Linked DNA regions of Homo sapiens: regions 1 and 3 are each linked to region 2. Evidence: promoter capture Hi-C in 16 types of primary human blood cells and fetal thymus (Javierre and others, 2016). All regions are on one chromosome and are shown on one strand. The core of a region is centred on a gene start or on the middle of the fragment in contact, and the rest is flanking DNA. Distances in the headings are between cores, read along the strand shown. Region 1 overlaps RIN2 (Ras and Rab interactor 2). Region 2 holds the start of NAA20 (N-alpha-acetyltransferase 20, NatB catalytic subunit). Region 3 overlaps RIN2 (Ras and Rab interactor 2).

Region 1 (3,513 bases), core at 151-2,650, 230 kb after region 2:
ACCCTATGTTGCCCAGGCTGGCCTTGAACTCCTCCTGGACTCATGTCATCCTCCTACCTCAGCCTCCAGAGTAGATAGGACTACAAGTGCAAGCCACAGAGCCCAGCTTATCCTAGATTTAGATAAGTTAAGCCCAACTTGAAAAATCCAACATTAGTTGAAAAATTAACAGGAATAAATGGATATTCTGTATCAGGATAAAAAGTCCCCTTCCCTAAACCCACATACACAAATAGAGAATGAAAGCCAAGTGGAGTAATAGCTGCCCCCTAATTAATAAGGCTAGAGATCAAGTTATCTGAGTGGGAAGCAGGCAACCTGACTTGCTAGCCTTGTAAGACTGGGGCAGTTGCTGGTGTCGGTGGGTGTATGATTATTTCATTTTTGAATAAATTGAGGTTTCTAGGGAGATCCAGATTGAGAAATCCAAAAGGCAGTTGAAGAATTACTAGAGACAAATGAATAAGTCTATATTCAGAAAACAACTCATCTGCAACGAGGGAAATGATGGTCTATAGAGGCCAGATCACCTTCAAGCCTTCTGTTCAATTCTGGGTGCCACATTTTGATAAAAACGTGATAAAATTAGGGCCCGTCAAGAAGTAGCTAGAAATGAAATATGTGACCATGTTTAGGAAAAGATGTTTGAAGGAGTCTTGGATGATTGACTTGGAGAAAAGAAAAAGCAGGGAAGCCTCTGTCATGTGAGTGGAATTAGACTTGCTCAGTGACAGATAAGAGGAGAACCAAAGGAGAGAAATTAGAGGAAGACAAATTGCAACTCGAGGTGAGGAATCTCTGGCTAGCACTTTGGGACTGGGTGATTTTCTCCTCATCAAAAATATTAAAGCACAGACTGAACAACAACCCATGGGGATGCATAGAGGGGACTGAAGCACATGGCAGGGAACCAGGCAATAGTTGGATGTCCCTGAGAGTCCTACGACCCCATGGGAGGAGGCAGATTGGAACAACAGTTATAAGATTAGGAGCCACCTACAGGGAGCAGGCAGCTAAAGCTACAAATAGGTAAAATGCCCAAGATACCAACTGCAGCAAGAGAAAGTAAGTAAACCACAGAAAGAATCTTGTACAAAATAAAAGAAACTAGGCAAGATAGAGAAATCATAAAGGACTAGGAAGAAAATTAAGAGTGTCACATAACAAAAGACAAGGGAGAGGAAATTCTATTGAAGTATAATTAACATACAGTAAAGTGCACACATCTTAAGTTAAAAGTATTATTTTAAAAAATCTTCGCATATCCCAAGTTCACGAAGATATTTCTCTTGTATTTTTTCTAGAAGGTTAATTGTTTTAGTTTTAACATTTAAGCCTATGATCCATCATAAAATCATTTTTGTGTATGGCATAGGAATCAAGTTTTATTTTTTTCCTCAGGAATATCAACTGACTAGCGCCATCTGTGGAAAAGACTCTTCTCCCGCCTCCACACCCGCTTAATTGCAGTGTAGCCTTTGTTGTAAGCCAAGATACTGCATTATCTTGTAGCTCTGTCTCTGAACTCTCACTTCTGTTCCATTTACCTATTTGTCTATCCTTGTTCTGATGCCACAGTCTTCATTATGTAGCTTTATAGCATGTCTTAATAATTGGTAATGTAAGAGCTACAGATTTGCTGTTGTTCTTAAATATGGCTTTGAATTTTATAATTATTTTTCAGTTTCACCTACAGTTTGGAATTAACTTGCCAATTTAAACAGAAAATAATTCTGCTAGGACTTATTTGAAATTTTAATGAGTCCGTAGATCACTTTGGGGATAAATGACATCTTTAAAATATCTCAATCCATGAACATGGTATGTCCTTCTATCTATTTAGGTCTTCTTTAATTTCTCTCAATGTTTTGTAGTTTTAGTGTGGTGTTCTTGCATATCTATTGTTAAGGTTTTTTTTGTATGGTACTGTAGATCACATTTTCTATTTAATTTTCTACTTGTTACTAGTATATTAACTCCTGAGTAATGGCAATTTTAATTTTTTTTTTTTTTTTCGAGACAAAGTCTTGCTTTGTTGCCCAGGCTGGAGTGCAGTGGTGCCATCCCAGCCCACTGCAACCTCTGTCTACTGGGATCAGGTGATTCTCCTGCCTCAGCCTTCCAAGTAACTGGGATTACAGGTGCCTGCCACCATGCCTAGCTAGTTGTTTTTTTTTTTTTTTTTGGCAGAGACAGGATTTCGCCATGTTGGCCAGGCTAGTCTTGAACTCCTGACTTTAAGTGATCTGCCTGCCTCAGCCCCCCAAAGTGCTGGGATTACAGGCATGAGGCAATGCACCTGGCCAATTCTTATTTTCTAATTTTAATAACATTTCTTTCTTTTTCTTGCCTTAGTGTCCTGGTAAGACTACCAGTATATTGTTGAATACAGATGACAGAGTGATAGATGCTATAAGGTGACAGTGAATAAGAGTGATAGGGCACGCTTGTGTTATTCCATACATCAGAGTGAAAGCATTAAGTATTTCACCATTCAACATGGCTTGCACATACCCTTTGTCAGATTCAAGTGGTTACCTTTCCATGGTAGTTTGCTGAGATCGCACTAAGTATTTTTAATCTAAATGTTAAATTCTACAATAAAAACACAATAACTTATTTGGAAATACAAGTTAGGGAGGGGTGTAGTACTTTACATTACTGATAGAGGAAGTCTTCCTCTATTTGGAAAAGACCATCACCTGGGATAGATGGAGTAGATCTGAGATTGTCTTGTGTAATGCATAGGGTAGTAACATGGTTGCCAGTAAGCACATGCTTGAGTCAAGCAGTTTAATACCTGAACTGTCTATCCTCCCCTTACTAGATCTATGTCTCTGGACCTGGAGCTTAAAATACAAAATCCAGAAAGCATAACATAATGATAGCACTAGCTACCACTTATTGAGCACTCAGTATATGCTTGACATTGTATTAAGCCATTTATGTCTATTATTTCATCCAATCCTTGCCATAACCTTCATAACAACAGATGAGGCAACAAAGGCATGAGAGATAAATTTACTTGCCTGTGGTCACACAGCCAGTAAGTGAGGGAGCCAGGATTCAAACCATCTGACTCCATGACATTAATCACTACACTTTTGCCATCAGGAATAAAATCTTCTCCCTCTAGCCCCGCATTTGAGGTCATTTCTCTCTCTCTCTCTCTTTTTTTTTTTTTTTTTTTTTTTTAAGATGGAGTCTTGCTCTGTCGCCCAGGCAGGAGTGCACTGGTGCGATCTCAGCTCACTGCAACCTCTGCCTCCTGGGTTCAAGCAATTCTCCTGCCTCAGCTTCCCAAGTAGCTAGGATTACAGCTGCACGCCACCATGCCCAGCTAATTTTTGTATTTTTTTAGTAGAGATGGAGTGTCACCATGTTGGCCAGGCTGGTCTCGAACTCCTGACCTTGTGATCTGCCTGCCTCGGCCTCCCAAAGTGCTGGGATTACAGGTATGAGCCACTGTGCCCAGACAGTCATTTGTCTTTATTATGGCCTAGAATGTTAAAT
Region 2 (3,566 bases), core at 79-2,578:
CTTTCCACAGGATCAAGTCTAAACCCCTCCTGTTTCACCCATTTCTTCCTGACTGCTCAGTGGCAGAAACCAGCCACTAGATTCGCACTGATCCCAGTTGTCTGACCGCACTTCAAGTTTCCCCATTTTCATGCCCCGCTCCTTCTCCGGAACTTCCGTCTTCCTCACTTACCAATGTGTTATCCATCTTCAAGGCTCACCCCCTCTTTGAAATGTTCCCAGCCATCTTATCCCATAGTTCTTTCCATCTTCCTGACACTTGAATCGGAACCACTTTGTCCTTAGTTTTCACATACCGCCCTGTTGTTTTTTTAAAGTGGATCCAGGACTGATAGATGGGAAGGAAGGAGAGATACCAGCGTAGCAAAATGTTAACTGCAGAATCCAGGAAAAGTGTCTATAAAAGCACATGGTGAAATTCCTCCAACTTTTCTAAATGTGTGGGAATCTTCATAATAAAATGTTTTCTTAAAAAAAAAAAATTGGTACCTGCAAATCAGAGGTCTGGCCTTAACTCGAATCCAAAGAAACTGCATCCAGGGCTCTGGGCACAGCGAGCCTCCCCTAAGATCTGCCGTGACTCCTCACAGAGGAAAGGTGTGTACACCGGGGTGCGCAGCTACAGTAACTAAACTTGCAAACACTAACCATGACTGAGACAGCATCTGCTGCAGGGGACGCAGTGATCAGTGTCATTTCATTTGGATACAATTTAACCACGGCCACCAGGTGGGCTTCACGATGTACACATCCCAACAGCTGCTGACCAGCTTCCGATCCTCGCAAGCCCCCTCTGCGGCCTGGCCGTCGGCGGTGCCCTCTGCCCAGAAGAGGCGCGGCCCGGCCACGAACCAGCAAGCAGTAGGGCAGGGCGAGAAGCCCAGGTCGTGGGCTCCAGGCCGCGTCTCCAGCTCGCCCCATCACCCCAGCGCCTCCTGACAGCGACCACGAGCGGAGGCCCGAGCGCTGCCCCAGAACCTGCCAGCTCGCAGGGTCCAGAGACAAAGTTTGAGCACCTCGGCCAAGGTCGCCAAGGCCGGCGTGCGTCGACTCCAGGCCCACCTCTCCCTGGACCCTGTGGCCCCAGGGAGGCGCCCACGTTGGCCGGCGGGGGGTGGTTCTCGCGGGTCCCCGTCCGGGCTTGGGGTCCGGCCGGGAAGGCGCGGCTGGGGCCGGAGCTGGCGGGGCCGGGAAGCGAGGCCCGGCCAAGAGCGGCTGGCCCTAGGCGCGTGTCACTCACATGTTGTTGAAGCGGAACAGGTCGTCGCAGGTAAAGGCCCGTAGCGTGGTCATCGCGCCGCCGCCGCTTCCGAAGACCGTTCGCCAAGACCCCGCGCCCGCCCTGCCGGAAGTCTCCCGGAGCGTGGCCGCCGCGGAACCGAGCGAGACGGGGTACTGCTTCCGGGCTACGAGTTGCTGGGCAACGACAGCAGCAAAGCAGCTTCCTCTGGCGGCCGGCGGCGGGAATTGCCAGGTCGCTCCTGTAAGGCCTCCGGGGCTGTGGCTGCCCAGAACCTCGGAACCCCTCCCAGGCAGCGGCTGCAGAAAGCAGGCGGCGACACCTGGGAAGGAAAGAAGCTGCTGGTGATGCGGAAACCCAAGCAGAAGAGCGGAGTTCGCAGCCACCCGGTGCTGCAGAGTAAATGAGGAATGGGAGAATTTATGACCCAGAATCCCTTGTCCCAGTGTTGCGAGTTGCAGATGTCATCTTAAAATGTCAATACCACGTTTAAAAACAAAAAGAAGGCCGGGCGCGGTGGCTCACGCCTGTAATCCCAACACTGGGAGGCCAAGGCGGGCAGATCACTTGAGTTCAGCAGTTCGAGACCAACCTGGCCAACATGGCGAAACCCCCTCTCTACTAAAAAAAAAAAAAAAAGGAAAGAAATAAAAATTAGCTGGGCGTGGTGGCACGCGCCTCTAATCCCAGCTACTTGGAGGCTGAGGCAGGAGAATCGCTTGAACCCAGGAGGCGGAGGTTGCAGTGAGCCGAGATCTCGCCACTGCACTCCAGCCTGGGCGACAGAGCTAGACTTGGTCTCAAAAATAAATAATAAATAAATAAAAGCAAAACGAAATGTAAAATTGATTTTGATAGTACGCTTTATTTTACCCATTTATTTTTCCTATTTGGGAAAAATATTTTTCCCTGACCCCACTTTATTATACCCGAAATATCATTTCAACATGTAACCAATCAATACTCAACATGTAATCAATCAATAAAAAAAGGAATGTGATATGTTACATTCTTTTTTGCAAAGACTTTGAAATCCGGTGTGTATTTTACATTTGCAGTGCATTTCAATCTGAGAGAGCAGCTGTCATCGGAAATGCTTGTTCTCTATTTAGATTTCATCAATGTATGGTTAAAAAGCAGATTCTCATATCCAAGCGGTTCCAAATATACTGTTTTCAAATCGCTGAACCAAACATCAGTTTTTAAATTTAAAGTAGTTAAAATTAAAAGTTAAAAATTCCTTTATTCAGACCAGACACAGTGGCTCACACCTGTAATCCCAGCTACTTGGGAGGCTGAGGTGGGAGGATCATTTGAGCCCGGGAGGTAGAGGTTGCTCTGAGACATGATTGCACCACTGCACTCCAGCCTGGGTGACACACCAAGACCCTGTCTCAAAAAGATAAGATAAAGAGAGATAAAATACATAAAGCAAGCAGGAATGCTGAAATGTATTTACACATGAGTGTTAAACTGGTCAATATCCACAGAGCTGTAATCACTGTCTCTCCTGGGCACTGTATAACACTATGCATTTGTATTTTATGGACAAGAAAAATTTTCATTACTATCAATTTTCCTCAGCTTACAAATTTGTAAAATTTTGTATTGTCAAAGACAATAAAAAGCAGAGAAAACCTGGAAACGTGTACTAAACAGTAATCTTTTTCTGGCCATTTCAAAGTGTTTCATAATTTTTTGTGTGTGACATGAACTAATGTTGATTTGAATTTTGTTCCTTATGAAGTAGTGAAGGTTTTTATAATATTTTTGGCTCTGATTCATTGGTATTATAAACATTAGAAGTTTATAGCTACTTTATGTTTGTATCTAGGTAATGGTGGAATAAACATGATTTTGATTTTTAGAAAAAAACACTGTGGGTTTAACACAAAGGTAGCATTGGAACCCTGCAGAAACTGGATGCTGTAGGCCAGCAGTTTGCAAGCACCGATACGAATTATTATTCCGATTTTGAGGCACAGATCAGAAATATCCTATAGCTACGTGGCCATTCCAACACATGGGGTCAGGGGAACGTGCAGGGCAGTACAGAGAATATCCTGGATATTCACCAGCTGGTTCTCCCTTCTCTCCTGTTTGTCTACTTATTTTTAAACTGTTATCAGTTTCCATTGCTGATTGCCTCCTATGAATTAGCATCTCGAAGGGTGGCCAGTAAGTGCCTAGCAAATATTGATTAAATAGCTGAGTGAAAAAGTGGCACACAGGTTACCCAGAAGATAATGTCATCCTTGGTAGTTTACAAAGAGGGTATTCACATTCTCAACAAAGGTATTTCACCTCTCTTTGCCTCAGTTTCTGT
Region 3 (3,062 bases), core at 141-2,640, 250 kb after region 2:
AGGTCATCAGATGAGCCCCAATCCAACAGGAAAGGGGAAACCTGGAGGACGATGTGAGGACACTCAGGGAGAATGTGTGAGCATGGAGGACTGGAGGGATGCATCTACAAGGCATGCTTGAGGCTTCCAGAAGCCGGGAGGCCTGGAACAGCTCCTTCCCTACCACCGTCAGAGGGAGCACAGCCCTGCCAACACCTTGATTTCAGACTTCTGGACTCCAGAACTGTGAGACAATAAATTTCTGTTGTTTCGAGCCACCTTGTTTGTGGTATTTTGTTACAGCAACCCTAGAAAATTAATGCATGCCTGTATTTCTACACAGGGACACCCTGAGGTTATTACAGAGTCATTGCTACAAGTGTAGGTCCTGGTGTTTGACAGACCAGGAGTGAATTGTGGCTTCCCCACTTTCAAGCTTTGTGACTACAGACAAATCACTCCATCTCTCTGTGCCTCAGTTTCTATAATTTGGGGAAAAAAGCATAAAACGACTTCATGCATACCAGGGGGATGAGGCACGAAGTGATCATCTCACAGGCTGGTCAGGGTTCTGAGATGAGGCAGCCATGTGAAGTCCTGAACAGAGGTCTGGCTCAGGCAGTGCCGGGACCCTTTTAGCTGCTGGGATTATTCCTTGGGATCTTGGAGTGCTTGTCAGTGGAAGCTTGTGTCTCTTGTGACATGAAACCCAAGATCAGCATGGTTCCAGGGCTGGCTTCGTGGCACCCAAACTGTTCAGTCACACAGGGCCCTGCATTCAGAAGGGCCCCATCCTTGGTTTAATGTCAGATGCTGCTAGAAAATCACATCATATGGGGATCAAAGACTGACCACTGGATTTGAAAACAGGGGGGTCATCGGTGACCTTGACAAAATCAGTTCAGGGGGCAGTATCCTGGCTAGAGTGGTACAACGGAAGAAGTGGAGGAAGAGACTTGGGGACAGTGAGCACCGATGCACTCGTAAAGAGTTCTTTGTAAAATGAAAGCTGAGAAAAGATGTGGGAGCTGGAAGTAAAAGTGGAGTCAAGAGAAGGTTCTCTAAAGTTGGGCCATACTACAGTATGAATCCAGCTGGATGGAAATGACCCAGGAAACAGGGTGAGAAACTGGTGACCCAGCAAAGAGCGGGACAATTGCTGCAGTAATGCCCTTGAGTATCTGAGAGAAGCCTGGGTGGACTGCATAACTGAGAGCGCGCATCTGTTCTATCCACGGAAGCAGGAGGGAGCTGGAGCCTACAGTCGGCATGCAGGTGGCTTGGTAGTGTTTGGGAGTCATGGAAGTTCTGCAGATTAGTTCTAGTTTCTGTGCAACAGAGCAAGATCCTGTCTCAAAATAACGAGAGAGTGAGGAGGGCAAGAGGAGGCAGGAGGAGGCAGGAGGCTTGAGAAGGGAGAGTCGGAGTGGAACAATCATTCAGGGCATGTTTTTTTCAAAGCCCATTAGTGGGTTGTGAAAGCAATTTAGAAAAGCTGCTGTCAGAGCGTTTTAATGAAATGAAAGAGGATAGGATCAGAGAGGAGAAGAAAGGAAATACCAAAGCAGTGTTAGTTCCCCAAACTCTCCTTCACTCCTATGCATATAAAAATGTAATTTGAAAAACAAGTATGTCGAAGATGGATCCGAAGAGGTGTGTGGATGGACTACGGAAAGGGAGCTGGACCCCTCGAGACCGACAGCCGTGAATCCCTTAAGGATGCCGTGGTCTTCCTGGCCATGTCCGTCTGCCTGGTGCAGGGACAGCCCAGGGGAAGTGTGCTTCAGCAGGGGTTGGGGTTGAGTTCGGGGAGTGCCCTGAGAGAGACCAGGCAAGAGAAATGAGGAATACGCAAAGGAGGTGTTATGTGATATATTATGAAACATATACCTGGTCTTTAACCCTGTTTCCTGCCATACAACTCCAAAAATCCTTAGAATCTCCAAAGTGATGTTTCTGCATGCTAATGAGCTGATTGACAGCTGGCAGTCCCTGGTTACAGGAAAGACCAAGGCAGGATTAGAGGACTGGGACTTTGACCACTGTCTCACCTCCAGGGACAGGAGAGGGGCTGAAGGTTAAGTTGATCACCAATAGCCAATGGTTTGACCAGGCAGACCTAGGTAATGAAGCTTCCACAAACACGCCAAAGGCCTGCATTCAGAAAGCTTCTTGGAAGCTGGCCTCCCCCTGTGCTTCTCTTCATCTGTATCCTTTGCAATATCCTTTACAATAATCCAATAAATATTTGTGTTTCCCTGAGCTCTGTGAGCTACTCTAGCAAATTAGTTGAACTCGAAGAAGGGGCTGTGGGAACCCCCACTTGATGCCGGGTCTGTCAGCAGATCCGGAGGCCGGGACTTGCGGCCCTAGTGGGAAGGTGGGGGGGGGGGGTGGGGGCAGTCTTGTGAGACTCAGCCCTCACCCTGTGGGAATTGAGCTGGAGGATGCCCAGCTGGTGTCCACTACTTGGTGTGTGGGGAAAAACCCCACACATTTGGTCACAGAAGGCTTCTGTGTTGGTGATTGTTGTGAGAGCAGAGGAAAAACACGTTTTTGTTTTTTTCACGTACAGGTTATACGTGAAAACATGGAATTCTTGCTGGGAAGGAGGCAGCAGGAGGTGGAAGAGGGACAGAGGCTGGGGGCAGAGCCATGAGTTGCAGAGCTTGGTGGTGACTGAGCGGAAGCAGCTCCGCAGGGAAAACAAGATTTCACATTTCCTCCTCCAGATGGAGGGCAGGGGAATTGTGTCCCCTTAGAAATGCTCATTTGCAGAGAGGTTCTGTTAAAATGGCTCATTGGGAAATGCTTTAAGGGTCAGAGGGCTTTCTCCTTGCCTCTGCGCTGGGCTTTTCACATGGCATGTAAACAATTTTGAAGTCAAATGGTATCATAGCTGGGTCAATTTCTCCAGCACTCACCCAACATTGTTTTCCTCAAAGGCAGTCCTGTTAAATTAAATAATCCTTAATTGCATAGTTCCTTCAGCTCAGTCAACCTTCAACAGTTATTTTGCTAAATTTATTACTTTTTATCTTTGCTTCTAGAATGATATTTATTTTGTAAAAGCATCATAATCC

The links. The method cuts DNA at HindIII sites, captures the fragments that hold promoters and counts their contacts. A CHiCAGO score of 5 or more calls a contact.
Region 1: a contact is called between a fragment that was not itself captured here and the fragment with the promoter of NAA20 in region 2, in 3 of 17 cell types (naive B cells, M1 macrophages and total B cells). The highest score is 7.6, in naive B cells.
Region 3: a fragment that was not itself captured here is called in contact with the fragment with the promoter of NAA20 in region 2 in 2 of 17 cell types (endothelial precursors and naive B cells); the score reaches 7.5 in endothelial precursors.

What each region holds. Positions count from the first base shown.
Region 1 is chr20:19,787,105-19,790,617 of GRCh38, reverse strand. The region is part of intron 1 of RIN2 (Ras and Rab interactor 2); the gene reads right to left. Among named protein-coding and RNA genes, the nearest start is that of RIN2, 31 kb to the right of the region's middle. The HindIII fragment of the contact is 4,608 bases long and covers 1-3,513 here.
Region 2 is chr20:20,015,124-20,018,689 of GRCh38, reverse strand. It overlaps NAA20 (N-alpha-acetyltransferase 20, NatB catalytic subunit), which reads right to left and starts at 1,328. Exons shown (of 6, transcript NM_016100.5): 1 at 1,241-1,328. The coding sequence starts at 1,293. RefSeq lists enhancers at 1-65, 527-1,027, 1,642-1,821 and silencers at 1,082-1,201, 1,252-1,321. The HindIII fragment of the contact is 8,583 bases long and covers 1-3,566 here.
Region 3 is chr20:19,770,185-19,773,246 of GRCh38, reverse strand. The region is part of intron 1 of RIN2 (Ras and Rab interactor 2); the gene reads right to left. Among named protein-coding and RNA genes, the nearest start is that of RIN2, 13 kb to the right of the region's middle. The HindIII fragment of the contact is 1,447 bases long and covers 667-2,113 here.